Linked DNA regions of Homo sapiens: region 2 is linked to region 1. The links are contacts of gene promoters, found by promoter capture Hi-C in human tissues and cell types (Jung and others, 2019). All regions are on one chromosome and are shown on one strand. Each heading gives the region's core, a stretch centred on a gene start or on the middle of the fragment in contact. The rest is flanking DNA. Distances are from core to core; before and after follow the strand shown. Region 1 holds the start of KRT74 (keratin 74). Region 2 has its middle 12 kb from the start of KRT6A.

Region 1 (5,830 bases), core at 1,853-4,352:
ATCTGACTGCATAGGCCAAAGGCAATTCCCCTGCAATTAAGCTCCCTAGGAACCAATTAGGAGGATTGCTTCTGTGTGGCCACAATCACAACACTGTTGTCAGGAAATTCTACTCTGCCTCTACCTTTTCCTTCTCCGTCACAGCCACTCTGCCACCATCATTACCACCGCTGTCAGCAACCCTTACTGGCCAGCCTCCAGCACAGGGCCCAGCCCACAGGGGCACCCTTTGTAATGAATACAAAGGGTGCCAGGACCCCTAGCCTTAGTCCTGGCCCTCCCCAGCCCATCACTTCTGAGTGTGGATGGACCCCATTCATTCTGCTGCATTTCCCTGGGCACCTGGATATCTGCCTTTTGTTTACCCTAAGTCTTCTCCAGCCTCAAAGATCTAGCCTCATGCCTTTTCTGCTTTGTAAATGCCTTTTCGTTGAAGTTCCTATCAGATTGGGGCTCATAGTCAGCCAGGCAGTGGTGGCGCAAAGACTCAGCTAGCCAGAACTATGATTATTTCCCCTCGGAGCCGGGCAATGAAGGGCCAGCTGCTGGTGATTCTAGAATAAAACAGCCGCTCATGAAAGCAAGTCTCTTCCTTCCCCCTGCCCATCCTTGCTGTGGCTGATTTTCTCTCTGAACCTAGAGTGATGTCTTATCTTGAGCAGCTACCCTTTGCAAGCCCCTAGTTCAGCAACAACCTCCCCTTCTCCTCATGTCACACTTGAATCAAAAACAACAGAAACACAAGCACAAGGTCCCCAGCCCACAGCTGCCATGCCTGCCACATGTACCACAATGTCTTTGCATCTTTGCCACTAACTTCCATCTCTATCACATAACACGATGGTCAGGAACATGCACTTTGAAACCAGACGCACTTGAATTCCGGCCCAGCTCTGACTTACTAGTTGAGTGAGATGGGTAAGTTCCTCTGTTTCTTCAACTGTAAATGAAGTTAGTTAAAGAGGGTTAAGTGAGACATCCCATGTAGACATCCCATGCCTGGCACATGTGAAGTGAAGAATAAGTGTTAACACTTTCTGTTACTACCATCACTATTATACAATGATGTTACTACCACTATTGCTACTACTGCCATAAGGAATACTTCCAGCCCCACTACCTCTGAGCCACTACTCTGAGCCAGCACCTGTAGTGGGCGTTGTTGGGAATATAAGCCTGGCTTCTGGAGATCCCCAAAAACCCTAATCAAGATGAGCCATTCCTCAGTGCACCTCTGATTCGTGGTTCATAATGCTTTTCTGTCATTCCAGAGCTTTGGCTCTACTTTAAGTTCTTTGTGTAGATTCCTCTCATTGGTCTGCAGGCTTCTTGGTGGCTGGGGCCCTAGGACAGTCACCCCCAGGTTAAGGAACTCACGCCATTTTTTGTCTTGCACACTCCAGCACAGGAGGGCGGCAAACCCAGCATCTGGCGGCACCCCTGCTGCTGCCCTTGCAACCTGACTTAGAAAACCACAAGCAACCCCTTCGATTACATGCTCCTGTGCTGTAGGGCTAGGCCCTGCCGGGAAAGCCCCCCGAGACAGGGTCCCTGGGGAAGGACCTTCCACCGTTACCTCAGGGGCTGAGAGGAAAACACCCTGTGAAGGGGAAATTCTTCCGGGGCAGCTTCCAGGCCTAAGCTCCACGCTCCCTGCCCAGGTCAGCTTCTCCTTTTCCCTCCCCAGCAGTGGGAGCAGTTGTCTTCTGCCCTCGGCTGGATCCAAACAAGCCAAGTGTTCTCAGTTTAGTTATAGGAAGTGGTCAGAGTCTTGCATGAGGGCAGCTGCCAGATACCTAGCTTTGAAATAATTTTTTTTGTTTTTTGGAGACAGAGTCTTGCTCTGTTGCCCAGGCTGGAGTGCAGTGGCACAATCTAGGCTCACTGCAACCTCTGCCTCCCAGGTTCAAGTGATTCTTCTACTTCAGTCTTTTGAGTAGCTGCGACTACAGGCATGCACCACTGCGCTCGGCTGATTTTTGTATTTTTAGTAGAGGCGGGGTTTCACCATGTTAGCCAGGCTGGACTCAAACTCCTGACCTCAGGCAATCTGCCCTCCTTGGCCTCCCAAAGTGCTGGGATTACAGGTGTGAGCCACCATGCCCAGCCCTGAAATAATTTTTTAACATTGCACTGTACCCACACTACCTGAGCTATAAAGCAGTGATACTTCCTGTTTGAAAATTGAGTGCTCCCTGAAGTTGCCAGGAAACTGGCAGAACAGCCCACCCTGAACCTGGGAGTGAAACTCAGGGGGTCCTGTTCCTTGGTGACTTCAGCCATAGGGTGTTTCCCCAGGGAGTGCAGGGGCTAATATCCCAGCTCCTGCCTGACTTCCTAGAGTAGGACAAATAATCTTATCCAGGAGAGAAAATCCAACTGGAGGAAATGCAGCTGACTGGAAAGGTTCTCATGGTTGTAAGGCAATGTCAAGGTCACCACCACCCAGGCCCTGCCCAACACAGAAGGCCCTAGACAATATCCCTGCTAGGGGGGCATGCAGATGCTGCAGAGTCATTCCTCTTCCTTCCTGGGGTCCACTTCACTGCTAGACAGCTGTGGTCCTTAGCATGGCCCAAGGACGGACCCTGGAGCTTCTTACCCAGATCCAGATCTTTGAGGACATCTTTCCAAGAAGAATCATCTTTCCATGTCTTCTTTTCCCTGAGGTAAAAATTCCAGCTTCCACACAAGACCCTATAATAGAGAGATGGTTTCTTTTGGGAAGAAACCTGGGGTTTTTCAGGTGAGTCTACTCTGGGGAAAGCCAGGCATTTCCCCTGCTCCTTGCTGATGGTTAAGCAAGAAGGAGGTAGCACTGGAAAAATAAAGCTAGGAGATCTCTTCAGGGGATAACTCTTCAGGTCCTTAATTAGGGAGCACAGATAAACTCCAAATTAGACCACTCCACTCTGCAAGGGCAGCATATTCCACTTGCTATCAGAAGAGCTTTGTTGCTGCAAAGGGCTTGGAGATCTCTGTTCTACAAATTGCCCATGGCCCCTGGCCCATCAGCAGGGGAAAGGAGATAGTGGAGAGACGCCCTTTTCCGGTGTCCTGGGCTCAACAGGGATAAAAGGAGGCAGCACTCTGGGTGCCCCATCAGTGTGTTCTCTACCCCTTGGAGACTGCTTTTCTCCAGCTCTGTCAACTCAACCTTTCCCACCATGAGTCGGCAACTGAACATCAAGTCCAGTGGTGACAAGGGCAACTTCAGTGTGCATTCGGCAGTGGTGCCAAGGAAGGCTGTGGGTAGCCTGGCTTCTTACTGTGCAGCTGGCAGAGGGGCTGGCGCTGGCTTTGGCAGTCGGAGCCTCTATAGCCTTGGAGGGAATCGGCGTATTTCTTTCAATGTGGCTGGTGGCGGCGTTCGGGCTGGAGGTTACGGCTTCAGGCCTGGCTCTGGGTATGGAGGGGGCCGGGCCAGTGGCTTTGCTGGCAGTATGTTTGGCAGTGTGGCCCTGGGGCCTGCATGTTTGTCTGTGTGCCCACCTGGGGGCATCCACCAGGTCACTGTCAACAAGAGCCTCTTGGCCCCCCTCAACGTGGAGCTGGACCCTGAGATCCAGAAGGTGCGCGCCCAGGAGCGGGAACAGATCAAGGTGCTGAACGACAAGTTCGCCTCCTTCATTGACAAGGTGGGTCTCATAGGAGGAGGATGAGGCCGCACCCTGAGGCCTGAGCAGTTTTCCTGCTGCCTGGGAATGGACTGCACACTGTGGCTGGAAAGGTGCAGCTGGGCCTCAGGAAGGGCTTCCTCACCATTAGGGAAGGAGAGTAGGTCTGTGAGCCACGGAGGACAAAGGAATACATGAATATATCGGCTTCTTTGGCGATTTTGCAGGGAAGGATGGGAAGCTGGGTAAAGAGCAGCCCTTCCTTGACAAAAAAGTGATGAGTTTCTTGAGGACAGCTGGATCTTCCAAGAACATGAAAGGCTAATAGAATCCAGCAGTGTTCAGAGGGAAGGGCTCATGGTACAGGAAGAGACACTTAGTTGAGACATAAGGAAGGACATCTCCTGGGACCAGGGCCGAGCAATAGAAGAAAGCTGTGGAAACTCCTTGAGTGAGTTCTCAGTGATGCCTTGTCCAGAAGGCTAGGAAATGAGCACTTGTAAAGGATCTAGTTTGTGTGGAATGGCAAGGGTGGAGAGTCAAGACATGAGCAAAAATGACTACAACAATCTATGGCAAACCTGGGGAGTCAATGGTGTGTGTCCAGGGGGCATGACTGCACCCATTGTGGTTCCAGGTGTCTGTTGATTTGGGTTCCAGGTACGCTTCCTAGAGCAGCAGAACCAGGTTCTAGAAACCAAGTGGGAGCTGCTGCAGCAGCTGGACCTGAACAACTGCAAGAAGAACCTGGAGCCCATCCTTGAGGGCTACATCAGCAACCTGCGGAAGCAGCTGGAGACACTGTCTGGGGACAGGGTGAGGCTGGACTCGGAGCTGAGAAGCATGAGGGATCTGGTGGAGGACTATAAGAAGAGGTGAGCAGGCTCCACCCGAGGGTCACAGACCATGTTTCCCGTGCCTCTGGGCTCACCTGATCTCTGTGCCATTATTTTTTAGGAGATGGGGGAGTATGCACCAGGGTCAGGAGCTCACATCCCTTTCTCTGGCTAGGGGGAAGGGCCTATCCTCTTTGATGATAACTTCCTGCCTAGTTGATAGGAAGCGGTTCCTGTGCTCCTTGACCCACTGAAATGTTCAGTTGCTGGTGTCGGGAGCCCAATAGGCACCTGGGTGTTTTCCTAACATGCAAAAACTAGGAGACAAGTGAAGCAACTCAGGGATATCTTACTCCTGTCACTAGCCTCTTACTGCTCACCCCAGAGACCCTGCAGGGACCCTGTATCCCAAACATTTGCCTGGCCAGCAGGAAGAGAAAGTTCCTTGGCTAAGGGGGCTAAGGCCATCTACTCTCCCTGCTGGCAGATATGAAGTGGAGATTAACCGGCGCACGACAGCAGAGAATGAGTTTGTGGTGCTTAAGAAGGTAAGAGAGGGAGGAGCCTCCTTATTAGGGTCTCTCGCACCCCCATCTTAACAACTCTGCTCAGGACTTCAGCCCAGGAGGCTGGGGAGGGGGCTGGTGCCTGGTGAGGGGGCTGGTGCCTGGTGAGGGTGGAGTCATAGTCCTGGCCTCCAGTGAGTTGGAGAGGAAAGACACACACTCAGGAAATGGACAGAGACAGACAGAATTCTGGTCTGGGAACTGTGAAACTCGGGTCCAGCTCAACCTTGCTGTGTGACCTGAGGAAACCTACTACCTCTCTGGGCTTTGTTTTCTCCAGGCATAACAGAGCTGCCCCATCCTCCTTTCCCTATTCCCAAAGCTTCAGGCAGCCTGAGAAGAAATTGATATTGAGTGAGCTTTCCTTTGTGGGTAGAAAATAGAAAATCAGGTGGCTTTGAGGCAGGAGTTGGGCAGGGCAGCTGTGGGATGAGGGTTGCATCCCCCAATGACTCTGGGGCCTCTTGGCAGGATGCAGATGCAGCCTACGCAGTCAAGGTGGAGCTTCAGGCCAAAGTGGACTCACTGGACAAAGAAATCAAGTTCCTCAAGTGTCTGTATGATGCAGTAAGGACACTCCTGTCCCCCCACCCTCACCCTGCCTCCTTCCCGACTCTTCCAGGGAGATACCAAAAGGAGAGATTTAGGATCAACAAAATGAAAGATGTTTTGGTAGAAAGGTACAAAACCCTGCACCAGGAGACCATGGAAGTGCAGGATGCTGGTCCTTGGAGGCCATACATACAGGAGGAAATTGATCTTGATACAATAGTGGACTTGCCCACGGGCAGGAAAAGATAACCCAGTGAGG
Region 2 (5,830 bases), core at 1,054-3,553, 68 kb after region 1:
TGTATCTGTAATAAGATGGAAGCATGAGAAGGATGTTTGCATGTCTGTGTGATAATGACCGTTGATCTTTTGATGGTGATCAATGGGAGCTCAGTGGAACAGGTATCAGCACAGAGGGGAAACAAAGGGTAGAAAACCTCAGCTCTGATTTAAAGAGCAAGAGAGACTAGAGGGACTTTTAGTTTGGGGTCTGGCACTTCAGGAGGTTGAAAGTCATCACTACATTCTAACAAAAAGTAAAAAATGGAAAAAATGAAAAGCAACAACTCTTCTTCATCTGTCAGAGAACTAAGATTACAGGGCAAACCACTGCCTTCCAACTGGAGAGTTAAAGAAGCAATTACAGAGAATCCCAACTTACCAGAGTAGTAACCCATGAGCAGAAATCTCCACAGGAACCAGTATTTGGGTAGAAAACCCTGAGCCATAATTGGTAAATTGCCGGAGGCTCCGTGTGGATAAGTTTGAGTGTTGAGAATTCCAGGGGAGCCCACTCTTAGAGAAGCATACTTAGTTTTACTCCAGGGGCTCCACCAGGTCCTCACAGAGAAAATGTGAGAAGAATCTCATGCTTCCAGTAGGGGGAGCAGACAAAGAACCATTTTGAAATAGACAGAGCATTCTGTTCTTAAGGCAGTCTGCCGTCAGGAACAACTATTTAACCACAGGCAGCCCTGCTGAGGTTTTATCAGAGCCTGGTCTAGCTGGAGAAAGGGAAATACCCAACCCCAGCTCCCTCCAGCTATGCTGACCCTACTTAAAGAGGTGAAAAAAGCCTCAGAAGCACTTGTGAAGTTCACAGCCAAGGGGCGCAGGCTCACTAAAAGACTGAGACCTAATTCTACTCATAGGTCTATAGAATACCTCCCCTCACCTCATACCTCATCACTACATTACTAAAGCTTATTTATCAGTTTCTTCCATCCATTTTCAACAAAAAAATTACAAAGCATACTTCAAGGTAGAAAACAGTTTGAAAAGACAGAGCAAGTACCAGAACCACACTCAGATATGGCAGGGATATTGGAATTATTAGATCGGGAATTTAAAACAACCATGATTAACAAGCTAAGAGCACAAATGAACAAGGTACACAACATGCAAGAACAGATGGGTAATGAAAGCAGATAGACAGAAATTCTAATAATAAAAAATAAATGCTAGAGATAAAAAACATTATAACAGAAATGACGAACGCCTTTTGTGGGCTCATTAGTAGACTAGACACAGCTGACATTAGAATCTGAGCTTGAGGGTATGTCAATAGAACTGTTTTTTCAGTTCTTTCTCAACTGAAAAGCAAAAATAAAAAAAGACTGAGAAAAGAAGAACAGAATATGCAAGAACTGTGGGGGAAACTATGAAAGATGTAACTTGTGTAAAAGGAATACTAGAACAAGAAATAGAGAAAGCAACATAATAAATATTGGAGAAAGTAATGACTGAGAATTTCCAAAAATTAGTGTCAGACATAAAAAAATACCTGTGTATATTATATTCAAACTGTAGAAAATGAAAGATAACAAAAATCCTGAAAGAAGCCATGGTTGGGGGGGAAACAACTTATCTATAGTGGAACAAAGATAAGAATTAAATCTCACTTCCTCACAGAAACCTTGCAAGCAAGAAAAGACTGGAGTAAAATATTTACTGTTGGGTGAGAAAACAGCAACACGGAATTCTATATCTTGCTAAATTATCCTTCAAAAATGAAGAAAAAATAAAGACTTTCTCAAGACAAACAAAAATGAAGAGAATATGTTGCCAGTAGTCCTGCCTTGCAAGAAATGTTAAAAGAAGCTCTTCACCAAGAAGGAAAATTATATAGGTCAGAAACTCGGATCTACATAAAGAAAGGAAAAGCATTAGAGAAGAAATAAGATCTAACAGATAAATGTTCGTTCAAAATAATAATAGCAACAATGTCTTCAATGTTTATACTTTATGTGTAAGTGAAATGAATGACAGCATTGATACAAAGGATGCGAGGGAGGAATTAGCGATACGGTCACCCCTTGGTATATGCCAGGGATTGATTCCAAGACCCTGCACATATACCAAAATCCTGGCATACGCAAGTCCCACTGTCAGCCCTGTAGGATCCTCTACATGAAAAGAAAAGTTGGCCCTTCATAATACTTGGATATTGCATCTTGTGAATTCTACATATATGTGGATCCATGCAGTTCAAACCCATGTTGTTCAAGGGTCAACTGTACTTGGTTATTTCAAAGAACTTGCAATACCCATGAAGCAGTATAGTGTTATTTGAAAGTAGACTTGGATTAGTTGTAAATGTATATTGCAAACTCTAGGGCAACCACTGAAAGAAGTAAAAAAAAAAAAAAAAAGTATAACCGATATACTAAAAAGGAGAGAAAATGGAATCATAAAATGCTCAGTTAAAACCACAAAAGATGAAAAAAGAGTGGGAGACAAAAAAGGAACGAAAAACAAGAGCAATAACTAGAAAACAGTAAGAAATATGGTAGATATTAATCCAACTATATCAATAATAACTTTAAATGGTGATGGTCTAAATGCACCAGCTTAAAGATAGAGATTGTTAGAATGGATCAAAAAACAAAACCCAACAGTATGCTGTCTAAAACAAACCCATTTTTAAATATAAAGACATATATGATTAAAAGTAAAGGGATGGAGAAAAGACATACCATGCTAATGCTAATTAAAAGAAAGCTGAAGTAGCTGTATTAATTTGGGACAGGACAGACTTCATAGCAAGGAAAATTATCAGTAAGAAAGAGGGGCATTACCTAATGATAAAGGTGTCAATAATAATCCTTAATTCCAAGATATAACTATCCGTAATATGTACGTGCTTAACAACAGAGCATCAAAATATGTGAGGCAAAAACCAATGGAATAATGGGGTAGAGAAACAGAGGAATCCACTATTCTAATCAGAGACTTCAACACTATTTTATATTAGAAAATATTTATATTGATTTTTTATTAGAAAATGAGTAAGGACATAGTTGAACTCAAAAACACCATCAATCACCTCAATATAATTGACACCTTTAGAACACTTCACCAAACAAGAGCAGAATACACATTCTTCTCAAGCTCACATAGAACATTCACACTGTGGCCATAAAACATACCTTAAAATTTTTTAAAAAATATAAATCATACAATGTATGCTCTCAGACCACAATAGAAGTAAGCTAGAAATCAATAACAGAAAGATAGTTTAAAAATCCCCAAATACGGCCAGGCATGTTGGCTCATGCCTGTAATTCCAGCACTTTGGGAGGCTGAGATGGGCAGATCACCAGATCAGGAGTGAGAGACCAGCCTGACCAACATGGTGAAACCCCATCTCTACTAAAAACACAAAAATTAGCTGCACGTGGTGGCACATGCCTGTAATCCCAGCTACTCAGGAGGCTGAGGCAGGAGAATTGCTTGAACCTAGGAGGCAGAGGTTGCAGTGAACCGAGATCACGCCACTGCACTCCAGCCTGGGCAACAGAGTGAGACCATCTCAAAAAAAAAAAAAAAATCCCCAAATACATGGAGATTAAACAACAAACTTCTGAATAACACATGGGTCAAGGAAGAAATCTGAACATACATTTTTAAATATTTTGAACTAAATAAAAATGAAAATATGACACCAAAATTTATGGGATGCAACAAAAATAGAGTTTAGAGAGAAATTTATATTGAATGCATGTATTCCACCTTAGAAACCTAGAAAAAAAGAAGGAAATTAAATTCAAAATAAGTAGAAGAAAAAAGTAATACAGATTAGAGCAGAAATAAATGAAATTAAAAGCAGGAAATTAATAGAGAAAATTAATGGAACCAAAAATGATTTCTTTGAAAAGACCAGTAAAATTGATAAGCTTCTAGCCAGGCTAAGAAAACAATAGAAAGGACACAAAGTTACTAATATCAGAAATGAATAAATCGACATCACTATATATTCCATGGGGATTGAAAGGGTAATGAAGAAATATTATAAACAACTCTACATCCTCAAATATGATAACCTAAATTAAATGAACCAATTTTTTGAAAGACATGATCTGCTAAAATTCACACAAGAAAAAATAGACTAAAGAAATTGAACCAATAGTAAATAACTTTCCAAAAGTTATTTATTTACCCATCCAGGCCTGGATGGGTTCACAGGTGGATTCTACCAAACATTGACAGGAGAAATTGTACCAATTCTCTATAATCTCTTTCCAAAGATAGGAACACAGAGAACATTTTCTGACTCATTCTATGAAGCCAGCATCACCTTAATACCAAAACAAGACAAAGATATTGCAAGAACAGAAAACTGTAGAGCATTATCTCTCATAAGCATAGCTGTAAAAATCCCCTATAAAATATTAGCAAATCAAATCCAACAATGCATAAAAAGAATTATAAAAGAATTATACACCATGACCAAGTGACATTTATTCCACGTATGACAGACTGGTTCAACATTTGAACATCAGTTAATGTAATCAATCACAACAATAGGCCGTAGAAAAAAAAACACATGATTATATCAATAGGTGTATTGTGAAAAACAATTTCACAAAATCCAACACCATTTATAATGCAAACTCTTAGTAAGCTTGGAGGAGAGGGGAAATTTTACAACTTGATAAAGAACATTTACAGAAAACCTGTGCTAAGATTATACTTAATGGTGAGAAACTAGAAGCTTTCCTGCTAAGATCAGGAACAAGGCAAGGATTTCCCCTCTCATCACTACTTTTCAAAATAACTGGAAGTCCTAGTTAATGAAATAAGACAAGAAAAGGAAATGAAAGTTATACAAATTGGGTGGGAACAAATAAAACTTTGATCACATGACATAACTGTCTATGTAGAAAAAAAGATGCAATGAAAAACTACCCAAACTTACAAGTGATTATAGCAAAGTTGCATGATACAAGGCTAATATAAAAAGTCAATCACTTTCCAATGTACTAGCAAAGAACAATAGGAATTTGAAATAAAAAACATGATACTACGTATATTAGCACCTCCAAAAATGAAATAGTTGGTATAAATCTAACAAAATATATACATATCTACATAAGGAAAACTACAAGCTCTGATGAAAGACATCAAAGAACCAAATAAATTGAGAGATATTGCACGTTCATGGATAAGAAGATTCAATATTGTCAAGATGTCAGTTCTTCCCAACTTGATCTACAGATTCAATGCAATCCCAATCAAAATCTCAGCAAGTTATTTTCTGTAGACCAAAAAATGGATTCTAAAGTTTTATGAAGAAGCAAAAGATCTAAAATGGCCCAACAAAATATTGAAGAACAAAGTCAGAGTACTGTCAATACTTAACTTCAAGACTTACAATGAACTACAGTAATAAAGGCCATGTTGTGTTGGTGAACGAGTTGACAAATAGGTCAATGGAACATGATAGGAAGGCCAGAACTAGACCCACACAAATATAGTTAACTGGTCCTTGACAAAGAAACAACAGCAATATGAGGGAGCAAAGACAAATGCTATTGAAATAATTGAATACCCCACATGCAAATGAATCTCAACACAAACTTTACACTTTCCACAAAATTAACTCAAAATGGATCATAGCCCTAAATGTAAAATGCAAAGCTATGAAACTCCTAGAAGATAACATAGGAGAAAACCTAGATGACCTTGGGTATGGTGATGACTTTTAAGATACAACACCAAAGCCATGATCCATGAAAGGAATAATTGATAAGCTGGACCTCATTAAAATTAAAATCTGCTCTGCAAAACACACTGCCAAAATGAGAAGGCAAGCCACAGACTGGAAGAAAATATTAGCAAAAGACATATC

Evidence for each region. Contacts are between HindIII fragments. The study calls those that stand out against the background at their distance.
Region 2: a contact is called between a fragment that was not itself captured here and the fragment with the promoter of KRT74 in region 1, in 5 of the 25 tissues and cell types used here (bladder, heart left ventricle, heart right ventricle and 2 more).

Annotation. Positions count from the first base shown.
Region 1 is chr12:52,571,115-52,576,944 of GRCh38, reverse strand. KRT74 (keratin 74) reads left to right here and starts at 3,102. Exons shown (of 9, transcript NM_175053.4): 1 at 3,102-3,638; 2 at 4,278-4,492; 3 at 4,941-5,001; 4 at 5,491-5,586. The coding sequence starts at 3,168. RefSeq lists an enhancer at 4,508-4,677. The HindIII fragment of the contact is 9,071 bases long and covers 1-5,830 here.
Region 2 is chr12:52,502,055-52,507,884 of GRCh38, reverse strand. No RefSeq gene overlaps it. Among named protein-coding and RNA genes, the nearest start is that of KRT6A, 12 kb to the right of the region's middle. The HindIII fragment of the contact is 4,691 bases long and covers 1-4,648 here.